Linked DNA regions of Homo sapiens: region 1 is linked to region 2. The links are contacts of gene promoters, found by promoter capture Hi-C in human tissues and cell types (Jung and others, 2019). All regions are on one chromosome and are shown on one strand. Each heading gives the region's core, a stretch centred on a gene start or on the middle of the fragment in contact. The rest is flanking DNA. Distances are from core to core; before and after follow the strand shown. Region 1 overlaps SEC16A (SEC16 homolog A, endoplasmic reticulum export factor). Region 2 holds the start of SNAPC4 (small nuclear RNA activating complex polypeptide 4).

Evidence for each region. Contacts are between HindIII fragments. The study calls those that stand out against the background at their distance.
Region 1: a fragment that was not itself captured here is called in contact with the fragment with the promoter of SNAPC4 in region 2 in 2 of the 25 tissues and cell types used here (H1 embryonic stem cells and pancreas).

Annotation. Positions count from the first base shown.
Region 1 is chr9:136,458,513-136,464,716 of GRCh38, forward strand. It overlaps SEC16A (SEC16 homolog A, endoplasmic reticulum export factor), which reads right to left. Exons shown (of 32, transcript NM_014866.2): 9 at 5,908-6,050; 10 at 5,167-5,228; 11 at 4,951-5,089; 12 at 4,375-4,620; 13 at 2,665-2,762; 14 at 1,530-1,611; 15 at 1,245-1,362; 16 at 932-1,043; 17 at 622-727. Among named protein-coding and RNA genes, the nearest start is that of SEC16A, 21 kb to the right of the region's middle. The HindIII fragment of the contact is 9,536 bases long and covers 1-6,204 here.
Region 2 is chr9:136,395,578-136,401,738 of GRCh38, forward strand. SNAPC4 (small nuclear RNA activating complex polypeptide 4) reads right to left here and starts at 4,593. Exons shown (of 24, transcript NM_003086.4): 1 at 4,557-4,593; 2 at 2,722-2,860; 3 at 1,400-1,446; 4 at 26-193. The coding sequence starts at 2,851. RefSeq lists enhancers at 1,877-3,076, 4,806-5,742 and silencers at 4,251-4,360, 4,431-4,560, 4,631-4,840, 4,991-5,040. The HindIII fragment of the contact is 18,374 bases long and covers 1-6,161 here.

The sequences.
Region 1 (6,204 bases), core at 2,035-4,534, 62 kb after region 2:
AGCTACTCGGGAGGCTGAGGAAGGAGAATGGCGTGAACTCAGAAAGCAGAGCTTGCAGTGAGCGGAGATCGTGCCACTGCACTCTAGTCTGGGTGACAGAGCGAGACTCGGTCTCAAAAAAAAAAAAAAAGCTCATACAGGCTAGGTGCGGTGGCTCACGCCTGTAATCCCAACACTCTGGGAGGCTGAGAGGATGACTGCTTGAGCCCAGGAGTTTAGGATCAGTCTGGGCAACACAGTTTTTTTCTACAAAAAATAAAAAAAATTAGTGTGGCATGGTAGTGCTGCTTGTAGTCCCAGCTACTCTGGAGGCTGAGGTGAATCACTTGAGCCTGGGAGTGATCAAAACAGTGCACTCCAGCCTGGGCAACAGAGTGAGACCCTGTCTCCCTTAAAAAAAAAGCTCATGAAAATAATTGAAATCAAATGCAAACGGAAAGCCTCAATTCAATGGGATCTTGTTTCTTAGCATTTTAGATCAAATGTCTTCTCAAGATCCTCCCCCAAAAAACTCACATCATTTTTTTCGATACCAATTCAAACAATCTAAGTAGCCAAAAGCTTGTTAGCACTGAGTGCCTGCCCAGCCATGACAGCTGCAGGCTGGCAGCACCTGCTTACCTGGAAACTAGGCAGGGGGCAGGTCTCGGCACCCAGGGACTGGGCGTACTCATAGGCTTCCGTCCTCTGGATTGCTTCGTTGGTTGCGAACTTTAAGAATGGCAAACTGTAGAGGAAGTGAATTATTTTGATTTGGAAAAAATGGCCAATTATTGGCATAGTCAACCTTGGAGCAAATCATCCAGAAGTGTGTCCCACCACGTGACAAATAAAGACATGATTCTGGCCATTTCTGAATTCACTAAAGGAGAAGGATTTTGTTTTACTTTGAAAGGAAAACTTACAGGACTACACTGACTTGGTTCTTTACCTGTGATTGGATCCGATTAAGACAAGCTTTGTAGTTTTCTTCGTGTAAACACCAAATCCCGCCTGGGCCATGAGGTAGCAGAAGTGGGCCGCATCCAAGAGGCCCCTTGAAGCTGCGGAGAGACGACACGACACACGGCGGGGGCTCAGCGACCGGGAGCGCTTGCAGAAGTCAAGGACGCGCACAGAAGGCACCAGAGACGCCAGCCGGACCGAGAAGGCCGGGTTCTGGTGATTTCTGCCAACGCCACAGACAACCGGGCCTTCGGCGCTCCATCCGCGACACCCAATGCCCATCTCCACCCCTGACCTACCCAGAGTGTCGCCCATGGTAGCCATCGTCCTGGACTCGACGTCCATGTTGTTGTTCAAGTTGGACAAGACCATGGCGAGGTGCGGCCTCCAATCTCCCCATTTCTCGTCTCCACAGCACTAACATGAGGAAAAACAAAACGAAGCCTCATCCCCGGAAGCCAGCGCCATTTCAATTCCACACAGCTGGGCTCACCAGGCACCTCACGGCCTGTGACAGCGTCACCCACGAGCAAACTCCACACAGGCAGTGGAGCCTGTGCAAGCCACCAGGCAGTGCCACTCACCGTGGACGCGGCAGGCATCCGTCCGGACATGAGCTGGTAGACTGTCTGCAGAGGGTCGTTGATTGGGAGGCTGTTAGCAAACCTAGGCAGACATAAACACAGAAAGACCCCATGCTGGCTCAGCTAAAAGAAAAAAGCCGGCCGGACATGATGGCTCACGCCTGTAATCCCAGCACTTTGGGAGGCCAAAGTGGGCGGATCACCTGAGGTCAGAAGTTAAGAGACTAACATGGAGAAACCCCATCTCTACTAAAAATACAAAAATTAGCCGGGTGTGGTGGTGCACACCTATAATCCCAGCTACTCAGGAGACTGAGGCAGGAGAATCGCTTGAACCCAGGAGGCAGAGGTTGCAGTGAGCTGGGATCGTGCCACTGCACTCTAGCCTGGGTGACAGAGCAAGACTCTGTCTCAAAAAAATAAATAAATAAAATAGTAATAAAATAAATTTTTTAAAAAATCAGCCCTAAGCCCTCTGATGTAATGATTAGACTTATATTTCACTTAGGCAAAGTACACACATCTCAATATTTTATTTTTCTTTCTTATCTCAATATTAAAAAAAAAAAAAAAGCTGTAAAAGATAAGGCCAGGTATGGTGGCTCACGCCTGTAATCCCAGCACTTTCAGAAGGCCAAGGCGGGCAGATCCCTTGAGGCTAGGAGTTTTGAGACCGGCCTGGCCAACATGGCAAAACCCACCTCTACTAAAAATACAAAAAATTAGCTGGGTGTGGTGGTGGGTGCCTGTGGTCTCAACTACTTGGGAGGCCAAGGCGTGAGGATCACTTGAACCTGGGAGGCAGGGGTTGCGGTGAGCTGAGATCGCGCCCCTGCACTTCAGCCTGGGCAACAGAGCAAAACTCAAAATTTAAAAAAAGCTATAAAAGATGAAGACTGAGGAATTCACTGAGATTTTACATGAAGTACTAAAAACCATGCAGTTAATTAAAAACTTTTTAAGCTCTCCACAACACGACCCAAGGAAGCCTCGAGGCCAAGGAAGCCCGAGTTCGTGTGGGAGCACAGCACAGTCAAGTGAGATCCGCCTGCCGCCTGCCCCCAGGGTGCGGACGCCGCGTGCTACAGGGAGCCAGCAGGGCTCGCCACTGGACCAGGCCACTGTGGGACTGTACCTGGTCATGACTCGGGCGTGTGTCCGGCTGTCCATCTTACTTGCAAGTAGCAGAGCGTGACCCCACAGGCCATTCTTCATTGCAGACTCCAAAGCATCCTGCAAAAGGCATTTCAGGGACCTTGGTGGGTTATCGGCGGCGCTCACGTGACATGAGTCAAGACAGGCCATGTGTCCTCACGCAGCAGCAGATACACAAACAACCCAAAGGCCTCAAAAACACACTTATTCACCATTTGGAGACTAAAGACACGTAGCGATTCATTATTTTCCTGAGTTTCAAAGTCCCTGTGGTAGTGGGTATTTGTAGATATTTGCTGCTTTTATCCATTTTCAGCATAAAACACAAGCACGCTAATCACAAACAGGGCTAATCACGCAGCGCTGCCCACCACGCCGCCCCATCCACTGGGAAACACGCTCGAGTCAACTCCCCAGTTCTAACAGGAGGCCTCCGCGAATATCCTGTCAACACGGAGAGTGACTCCAGTAAGGCAGCCTCCCCTTTCACCAAAATCATCCAGGGCATAATTTAGAACTTCTGGCTGGGAGGCAAAAACGTTACAGTAGAGAAAGATGTTAATAAAAGCTAACAGGTTACATGACTTCAATCAGTTATAAAACATCCATAATAGACTCATACTGATCAGGCCGGGCGCGGTGGCTCATGCCTATAATCCCAGCACTTTGGGAGGCCAAGGTGGGCGGATTGCTTGAGCCCAGGAATTCGAGACCAGCCTGGCAACATGGTGAAACCCCGTCTCTACAAAAAAAAAAAAAAAGTTAGCCAGGCGTGGTGGCATGCAGCTGTAGTCCCAGCTACTCAGGAGGCTGAGATGGGAGGATCACTTGAACCCAGGAGGTCGAGGCCACATTAAGCTGTGATCACGCCACTGCACTCCAGCCTGGGCAAGAGTGAGACCCTGTCTCAAAAAAAATTAAAAATAAAAAAATAAAAATACTGGTCAAATATGCCCTTTCTGAGTTTATCATGATATAAAAGGACAGAAAACTCTCAGCCTATCCCATGTCTCTGCTGTTCAGGGCCACACATGCTTCTGAGACTGGCCTCTCTCCTGCTTAGCACATCCAAAGCAAACATCATGCACCCTAGACAGCCCCTCCTGTGCACATAGTGTCACTGCTGCAGTCACTATGGACCCCCCAACCCCACTGTCCCAGAGCAGGCTCCTGTCTCAGGCCCCCCACCTGCCCCAGTCCCCACGCTGCTGTGACCCCAGTCACTGGACGCTACACGCACTGGCTGCTCTCTTGCCCATGGCCTTTCCATGCACTGCGCCTCTGACAGGTTCAGTGTGCCCTCCCAACTCCCAATGACTTCTGGGCTGTGGACTCGAGTCTGACTTTGTGAGAATGCCACAACTTGTGTCATGCACATTTCATCCGAGATTTGGCACACACAGCAGGGGCACGGCCTGTGCTCAACATGTGCATTTATCGAATAACTGAAAATTTAATCTGCAGGTCTCCAACACTGGAAACAGTTAGAAGGAAACCAACATTAACACCTCCAGAAGGATGGCATACAAGAGTCAGGCATTGTTCAGGAAACAGCAAGACCCGAAGCCCCACACTGCAGCGCGGATGCTCCCAAGAGGGGGCCACGTCCCTCCCTGAAGGCTGCAACCCCGCACCAGGCCCGACCCAGTGGACATGTGCAGGCGCCAGGTGCCATGATGAGGAGGCGCACCTTCTTACGGCCATACAGCAACAGCTCCCTGAACCTCTCGGTCTCTCTCTCGAGCGAGCTGGCGGCAGCCGCCGGACCACCAGTGAGGAAAGAGAGCTGGGCCTCACCAGACTCCTCCTCTTCCACCTGCTCCACTGCCTCATTCGTGAAATCAATCAGGTTTGCTTCATTGGGCGACTTCCCAGGAAGCCACACTGTTCTGTGGTCTCGTAACAGAAGCTCCGCAATGTCGGTCCCTACCACGGTCTGTTTGGGTCAACAGGAACAGGAAGGAGAACAACGGCTCTCAGGTGAGGACGCGTTGGACCACCACAGGCACAAAGCCCCACCCTGGACACAGCCAGACCCACAACTACCCGAAAGGCTGGCAAGGCTGGGCTGAAACCTCATCCCATCCCAACCGCACGTTCCCTCTCCCTCCCTACCCAGCCACTACAGTGTGCTTCCTAAGGGGGCCCTCGAGGCTCCCATAGCTGGCCACGCGGATCCCGCCCTGCTCCTTCGGGAGGCTGAGCATTCCCAAGACGAAATGAAGACCAGCAAGAAGAAACACTCTAGAAGTAGAAAGAAACATACCCCATTTTGTCTGCATAAGAGAACAATAAAATTCCAAAGAAGACTTGCAGACTCTTTGTCAATTAAGTTTTCATTCTGCAAACATTTCATAGCTTTGTTCTGTGCAAAATTAATGACATCCACCTTATGGGTGTCGTCTCTGCAGAAAGAACACACAGTGAGCAGTGATGTCTGCAAGGCCGGGCTCACAAAGAAATGCCTCAACAAGGAACATACTTGGCCAGGGGTCCCGGGAACGCCCGCATCTCCTCCTGCTCAGACGTGTGCTGCAGCAAGGCCTACGAGGAGAGGGCCGTGGGTCAGTGGCAGCCAGTGCGCAGCCACCCTGCTGGCAGGCCGGCCAACCCAGGCACGGATGCTGCCCGTGAGAGGAGAGGATGGCATGGCCCACCTGCCCCGCCCCACAGCAGGTGAAGGCTCTGTCGAGGCTGTTACATGGAACATGGCCTGTGTGGACCACAGCCATGATTTCAAACTTTATTTTAAGTAGTGAAATCCATTTTCTCTCCCCAAATACTGAGGCAGAACCCCAATACATGTGACAGAAGCCTGCAGAAGCTGCAGGAAGAGGCGCATGCCAGCCCCCGTCACCTCGGCAGCGCCGTGCACGTCCACCCCACCCGCCCCCCTCACCTGGGCAGCACCGGGCCCACCCACTGCATCTATCATTGAAAAGCACCAATAAAGCAAACATCCCCAAAACGAGGACAGAAAATGCATATACAATCAAACCACGTTGAACACCCAAGGCAGACGCTTACAATACTGACTTCTAGGAGGAAAAATATATGATCAAATAGAAGAAAAACCCTACAAATTGAAAATTCACAGGAATAAACATTTTCCAAGGACGTATGTCCAGAGACAAGGTCTGACAATTGAAGATGACAAACTGCAAAGCAGAGAGTTCCCCAGGGCAGCAGAGCAGTGACGCCACGCTTCTGCGTGTGCCATTACCTCCATGCTGTGGACCTCCACCAAGGCCGGCTGTCCTTCTGAAGGCAGATTGGGAATCACTTTGATAAGCTGACCGCCAGGGCCAAACCTGGCACAGACATGAGGCACTGAAAATTTTTCAGGAGAAGTTGGTCTTGATGAAACTGCATTTAAAATAAATTGAAAAAGAAACAATCAGCTTGTCACTGATGCTTCTGAGCCTAGATTTTCAATGTGCTCACACAGCTTAAATCACAGGTTAGATTTATCACGACAGACTTCCAACTCAAAAGTCGGTAATTGTTTAATATCATACTT
Region 2 (6,161 bases), core at 3,343-5,842:
ACCGGGGGGCCGAGGCCCATCCCACCTGCTGCTCCCGGTTCTGGGCCAGCAGCAGGTTGGCCTCAGCCAGCTTCTCCTGGATGACCTCCTGGTAGACCATGTTCAGCTGCAGGCAGGTTTCTGGGTCTTCAGGGAGGGTTTTATCCTTGGGATCGTCCTCGTCATTGCTGGCTTCGCCCCACCTTTCTTCTTCCTGGTAACGAGCCAGAAATGGCATGTGACGAGATGAGACGTGGATGCTCCCCTGTCCTCGGCAGCCAGTCGCCCATCGCTGGGCCTCTGGGACACCGAGGCAGCTCTGGCATAGCAACACCCAATGTGGAAGCAGGAAGTGACCCTGGTGGGCAGCGGGAGGGCGTCTGAGTTTGGGAGTGGAGCCTGTCACTCTCAAGGCGGCCTGTGTGCGCCTTTCCTAATCCACGGCAGGCAGAGCCTCCAACCTGGAACACGCCAGGGCTGCGGCTGCTGCAAGGCAGCAGGCAGCTTTCCAGGACCACAGGCGTCCTGTGAACCCTGAACTCTGTCCTGAGCCCCTGTCGTGTGCATCACCAGCAAAGCACGGGGAGCAAGCCTGTGTGGGAGGAAAGTCTCTGCAGAGCCAGGAAGTGGACGCAGTGAAAATGCCCACTGGGAGGTGAGGTGCCCACAGGCTACAGCAGGGTGCTCACTCACAGAAGGTGAACCACACAGCCACGCAAACATGAGGAAACTCAGTACCCACTAACTTTGCAGAAAAAGGAAGCAGCAAATCGCCAACGTTTTCCAAAGTAAACAAAAGGCAGCTAATAAAATAATCACTGGCCTCACAGAGCAGTTGCCAGGTGCTGTTTGGGTGCTTGTGTATTTTTCTTTTTTTTGAGACAGGGTCTCACTCCATCACCCAGGCTGGAGTGCAGTGGTGCAATCACAGCTCACTGGAGCCTCGGCCTCCTGGGCTCAAGTGATCCTCCTGCCTCAGCCACCCAAGTAGCTGCGTCCACAGCCACGTGCCACTGCACCAGCTAATTTCTGTATAGCTGCTCGTGTTAACTGACTTGTGCTGTAAACGTCCCCGCTGCCCCACAGGAATCTGAGGCACAGAGAGGCGAGCTGTGAGGGGCAGGACGCAGGTGCACAACTCACAGCTTTCCGCAAGTGACAGATGCCACACAGGAGACAGAGGCATACAGCAATGAGCTCAGAAAAAACCCAAGGGGTGTGATCACCAAGCTGTTAACAGTGGTTATTTCTGGGGACAATTTCAATGACAAATGCTTTTTAATTTTTTTATAACAAACGTGAATCATTTTTATAATGCAGAAAAACCAATATGGGTTCAAACCACGCCCCCTCCCAGGCTACTTTGGAAGGTGGTGGCAGGCCTGACCCAGTGGCACAGCCAGATCAGGCCAACAGTTACCGAGATCGGGGGATCGGCAGGATCCAAGTCCTCAGAAGGCAGTGAATCTGTCAGAAACACAAGCAACACCGTGTTGGTAACCAGCGTCTTGGGCAGGGTGGGGGCGCAGCTCACCACTGCTTCTTGGGCAGACCTGGGGTTGTGAGGTAGTGACAGCGCCTCAGGCTGAGGCTGGCGGTGAGCGGACCTTCCCTCCCTGACAGCGGGGTGGGCACTGGACCAAGGCCGGGTTAGCCAGATAGAGAAAACTCTGACCACACACTGGGGACCTCCAGGCACACAGGACAAAGCTACACAGGGTTCACTGGATGGCACAAGCTATCTTTACTGGAGAGACAGGGAAAGTTTAGCAGAAAACGGACCTCTCCTTCAGGAGCTTAGCCGGTCAGATGGGAGGCACGGATGTAGAGGCCCTCACCACAGGAGAAAGATAGCAGGTTGCCTCAGAGGCAGGCCCTGGGTCTGGGAGAGGTGGGAAGCAAGGCTGGGGGGGTCTCCTGTCAGGGCAGCAGCTGGTGGGGTTGGGGTAGGCTCAGAAGCTAAAGGGAGCATGGAGGAGAGCATGTGGGGAGGGGAGCATGTTGGGAGGAGAGGCTGTGGGGTGGGGAGCCTATGGGGTGGGGAGCACATGGGGAGGGGAGCACGTGGGGTGGGGAGCACGTGGGGAGGGGAGCACGTGGGGAGGGGAGCACGTGGGGAGGGGAGCACGTGGGGTGGGGAGCACGTGGGGTGGGGAGCACGTGGGGAGGAGAGCACTTGGGGTGGGGAGCACGTGGGGAGGGGCACATGTGAGAAGAAGAGATCCTAGGGGTGTGAGCTGTGTTGACCATCCAGGCATGGACTGTCCAGACTGCCATCTGGTGAGGTTCAGGCCTGCCCCCTCCTCCCAGGATGGTCCACTCCAGAAGCCCTGCACAGGCCCAAGGAGGCCAGGCCCAGACCCTGGGATGCCTAGAGCCCAGTGTACACACACAGCCAGCTGGTTCAGGGGCTAGCAAAGGAGGAATTGTCAGAAGCTCTCTGGCTGGAGTACAGAAAGACACCAGTGTTGGCAAAAAATTGGGTCTGGTCCAAGCAGCACCAGCCATCGTTTATTATTATTATTATTATTTTTAGAGACAGGGTCTTGCTGCGTTGTCCAGGCTGGACATGAACTCCTGGGATCAAACAATGCTCTCACCTCAGCCTCAGGAGTCCCTGGGTTTACAGGCCTGAGAAACCACACCCGGCTACCATCACTCCCTAATGTGCCTGAGAGGAACCCAGGAGGCAGACCAGCTGTTCTTACCAGGACCCCAGGAGGCTAGGTACAAGGGGCTTACCTGCTTCAGAATCTGACTCGAGACTTGATTCTGAGATCTCCACGTGGGAGCCCGAGGAGCCGGGATCCAAAATCCTTTCCAGCTCCTTGATCTCCTGTGTTATCTTCTCTCTTTCAGCATCTACATCCATGACTCCCGCCTGCCTCCAAAACACACCCCGAGATGTTAGAAACCAAGACCGTGCCGGGATCCCATTCTCCTTCAGACACACCCGCCCATGGGGGATGGCAGGAGCCTGCTCGGCAGTGGGCACTGGGCTCCCCAGAGAAAGATTAATAGGCCAGGCACAGAATCGGGGAACCCTGGGACAGGAACCTCAGACCCCACAAACTCCTGCTATGTGCTCTGCCAGGAGCCTAAGCCCCAAGAACATCTCCCGCCTGCTCTGAGGCTGCAACCAGCACAGGCAGGGAGTGGATGAACAAGGACAGGCCCCACTGTCCCGTCTCTGCTCCCACACCAAGCCACATGGAAACTGGCCACCCAGCGTAGAAGGTGTGGGGTGCAGTGGCAAAGTCACTACAGGGCAAGGACACAGCCCGTGACCCACTTTGGCCATCCTGCTCTCCCATGACACAGAGCCGGACCACAGAGGGCATTTGAGAAACGTTCACAGAGACACACACTGAGACTGCCCAGGTGGCAGGCACTAACAGCATGGTTGGGAAGGAAGCTCCCAAAGGGAAGGCTGGCTGTTCTCTGTACATCCAGAACAACGCCTGGAACGTGGCAGTGCCTGACACTAACAAATGTTTGTCAAGCTTTTTTCTTAGGAACTGTGGTCCAGGAAGTCTGAAGGGAGAAGGACGCTAGAGAGAGAGTGGGAGAATGAAACATTAGCAGAGAAAATCTAAAGGAATCACTAGCACAGACCCGGGAGCCCAAAACACCCAACAACAAAGAGAAACGCCCTCCCCCGTCCTTGGCGTGGCTCTCCCTGCTGGAGGCTGACTGGGGCCCTGCCCAACTGGAACAAAACCAAAGCATCCACCCGCGAGCACCGTTAGCCGCATCAGCAGCCCAGGTCCCCTCACTCCTTCACAAAGCCCCTTGTTTATGCCCGAAATGCTTGTGAACCTGTAAACTCAGTTAACAGCCGGCCAGAGGCAGAGCTGGCAGCGACCGCAGGCTGGTTCAGCGCCTCCGGGCCGGCGGAGACGCTTTCCTCTGGAAGCCTCACACGAGGCTGCTGCCTCCCCCTCCCCGTGTCGCTCAGGTGAGCAATGATCAGCAGGAAGGAGGTCAAAGTCACACGTGCTGAGCCACTGACATCAGGGGCTGTCCCTCTCCCCGCACCCCTCTCCCAAGGGCTGGTCATGAGGGCTGCCCACCAAGACGGAGCGCAGCAGGCGGTCCCTCCAGCCCCAGCTGCGGGGACGCCACCCAGACTCGGCTGGGCCCAGGGAACCCCAGGATGCGCCAGGACGATGGGCGTTTAGGCACTGGCTTGGGAGACAGACCCGGCCCAGGCCCAGTTCCGCCTCCTGCTCGCTGCGTGAACTGGGGAAACCCCCTCCGAGGCTCGGCCACCGCGGAATCGCCGGCGCAGTCCCCGAGACGCACGCGGGCGCCCTGCAGCCGGGGCCGCCCCGCCGGAGCCTCCTCGGAGCCCGCAGCCCGCTCCCAGCCGAGGGGCTCCCAGGGCCAGAATCCCCGCGCGCCCAGGCTCGGCCGGACGGGGGCCACGCCGGGCCTCAGTTTCCCCGACTTTGGGCGCTGCCCCGCCCCCGTCCCGGGCCTCGGCTATCCGCTCCTCGGGACAGCGCCCCCTCCACGGGGAGAGCCCTGAAGCTGCCGACGCCACCCGCGCCTCACCTGCTGGGCGCACACCTTACCTGGCCGCGCGGACCCCGCCGTCGCCCGGGCGACTGCAGACTCGACGCTTCCGGCGGCTGCAGAACAAGAGCGCCGCGCGCCGGAAGTCCCGCCTCCTGAGGCGCGGGGCACGCCGGGACGGCCGCTGCGGCCTGCCGGGACTAGAGAGGCGAACGGCTCGATGCTGCCCTCGCGCGGCCGCCCTGGGGGCCGCCTCCGCGCGCTCTGGAGGGGCGCGGGTGGACGCGGGACCTCAAGGCAGGGGACAGACAGGGACAGGCACCCGGCCACCTGGTCACGATCCGGAAGACCGGCCCTTACTGGCTGTGACCTTCGGCCATCGCTGGACCTCTCTGTGCTTGTTTCATCCTCTGTTAACGGACATGTTGGGGTTTGGTTAAGCAACGGATGAGAAAGTCTACGTGAAAGGCTTTTTCCCCAGCCTGCCCTGCATGCTCAGGATCGCCGAGGCCAGGCCGATCTCCAGGCACGTGCAGGAGACTGAGGCCAGAGGGTGGGGGCCCGCACCACACAAACTCGCTTCCCTGGTCACCTGTGCACACCCTCTGGGGTCTCCTGGCCTGGAGAGCTGCCCCGGGGCCCTCCCCTAAGTGGGCATTCATTCCTTCAGGAACGTGCCAGGGCTAACTCGGCCGGGAGCTGGGCAGGGGCCTACAGTTCCTGGCTCCTGAGAGCTTCTAAGTATCGGTGCTGCAAAGACATCCTGGGCCCAGCCAGTTGAGGGGGCCTCCACTCCAGCCTGGGGTGAGCTAGGGGCATCAGCTGGAGAACTATAAAGAGGGTTTGCCCTGCCTACCTAGGAGGTGGGCTTTTGGTGGCAAAGGGCTAGGCCCAGGTGAGGCCAAACTGGGAGCTAGGGATTGGCAAGAAACAGATGGAGGGGATGGAACCAGGCGGCTGGGGGCTCCTCGAGCGCCTCGTTTCAGTCCCTGCATCGGGCTTGAAATCTGGAGGCAGAAGGCAGGCACTAAATACCGCGCCACAAATTGTATTTTTAAACTTCTTACTATCAAACGCTTCAAACACAGACATCAAAAGAGAGGGGTGCGCAAAACCCACATGCCCATCCCCACCGCGCTTCCCTGGGCCCCACCTGCTCCATGAGCTGCTGGCATGAGGGCCAGGGGACCACCCCACTTCACACGCATCTGGTGGATGGGACCCGCCTGGCGATCTGGCCTTTGTGACCCCCACCCCATCAAATGCTGTCTCTCCCAAAGGGCCTCAGGGAAGGCCTGTGGCCTGAGGCATCCTCCCCAGATGCCCCCATCCTGCTGCTACAGGGCTCCCAGAGCTGCCTATACACTCAGAACCTCATTCCGGCACTTCCCAACCACAGCACCCTGTCTCAAGTCAGCTCTGCCAACAGAATCCAGAGCCTGCTTTCACCAACCAGCAGGAGCAGGAGGCGCATAGGGCTACGCAGCAGGACCGCTCCACAGTGACTGCTGGAAAGCTCTGGCCTTCACCTGTAGCTAAGGCTAGGGGTCTAGCAATTCAGACGCCTTGTTTGAAAAATTCAACCACATGATCCGAAAAGATGATCCAATGCTAGAATCCAGTCTGTCCAGCTCTGAAACGTGCAGCTGCGTGACTCACACGTC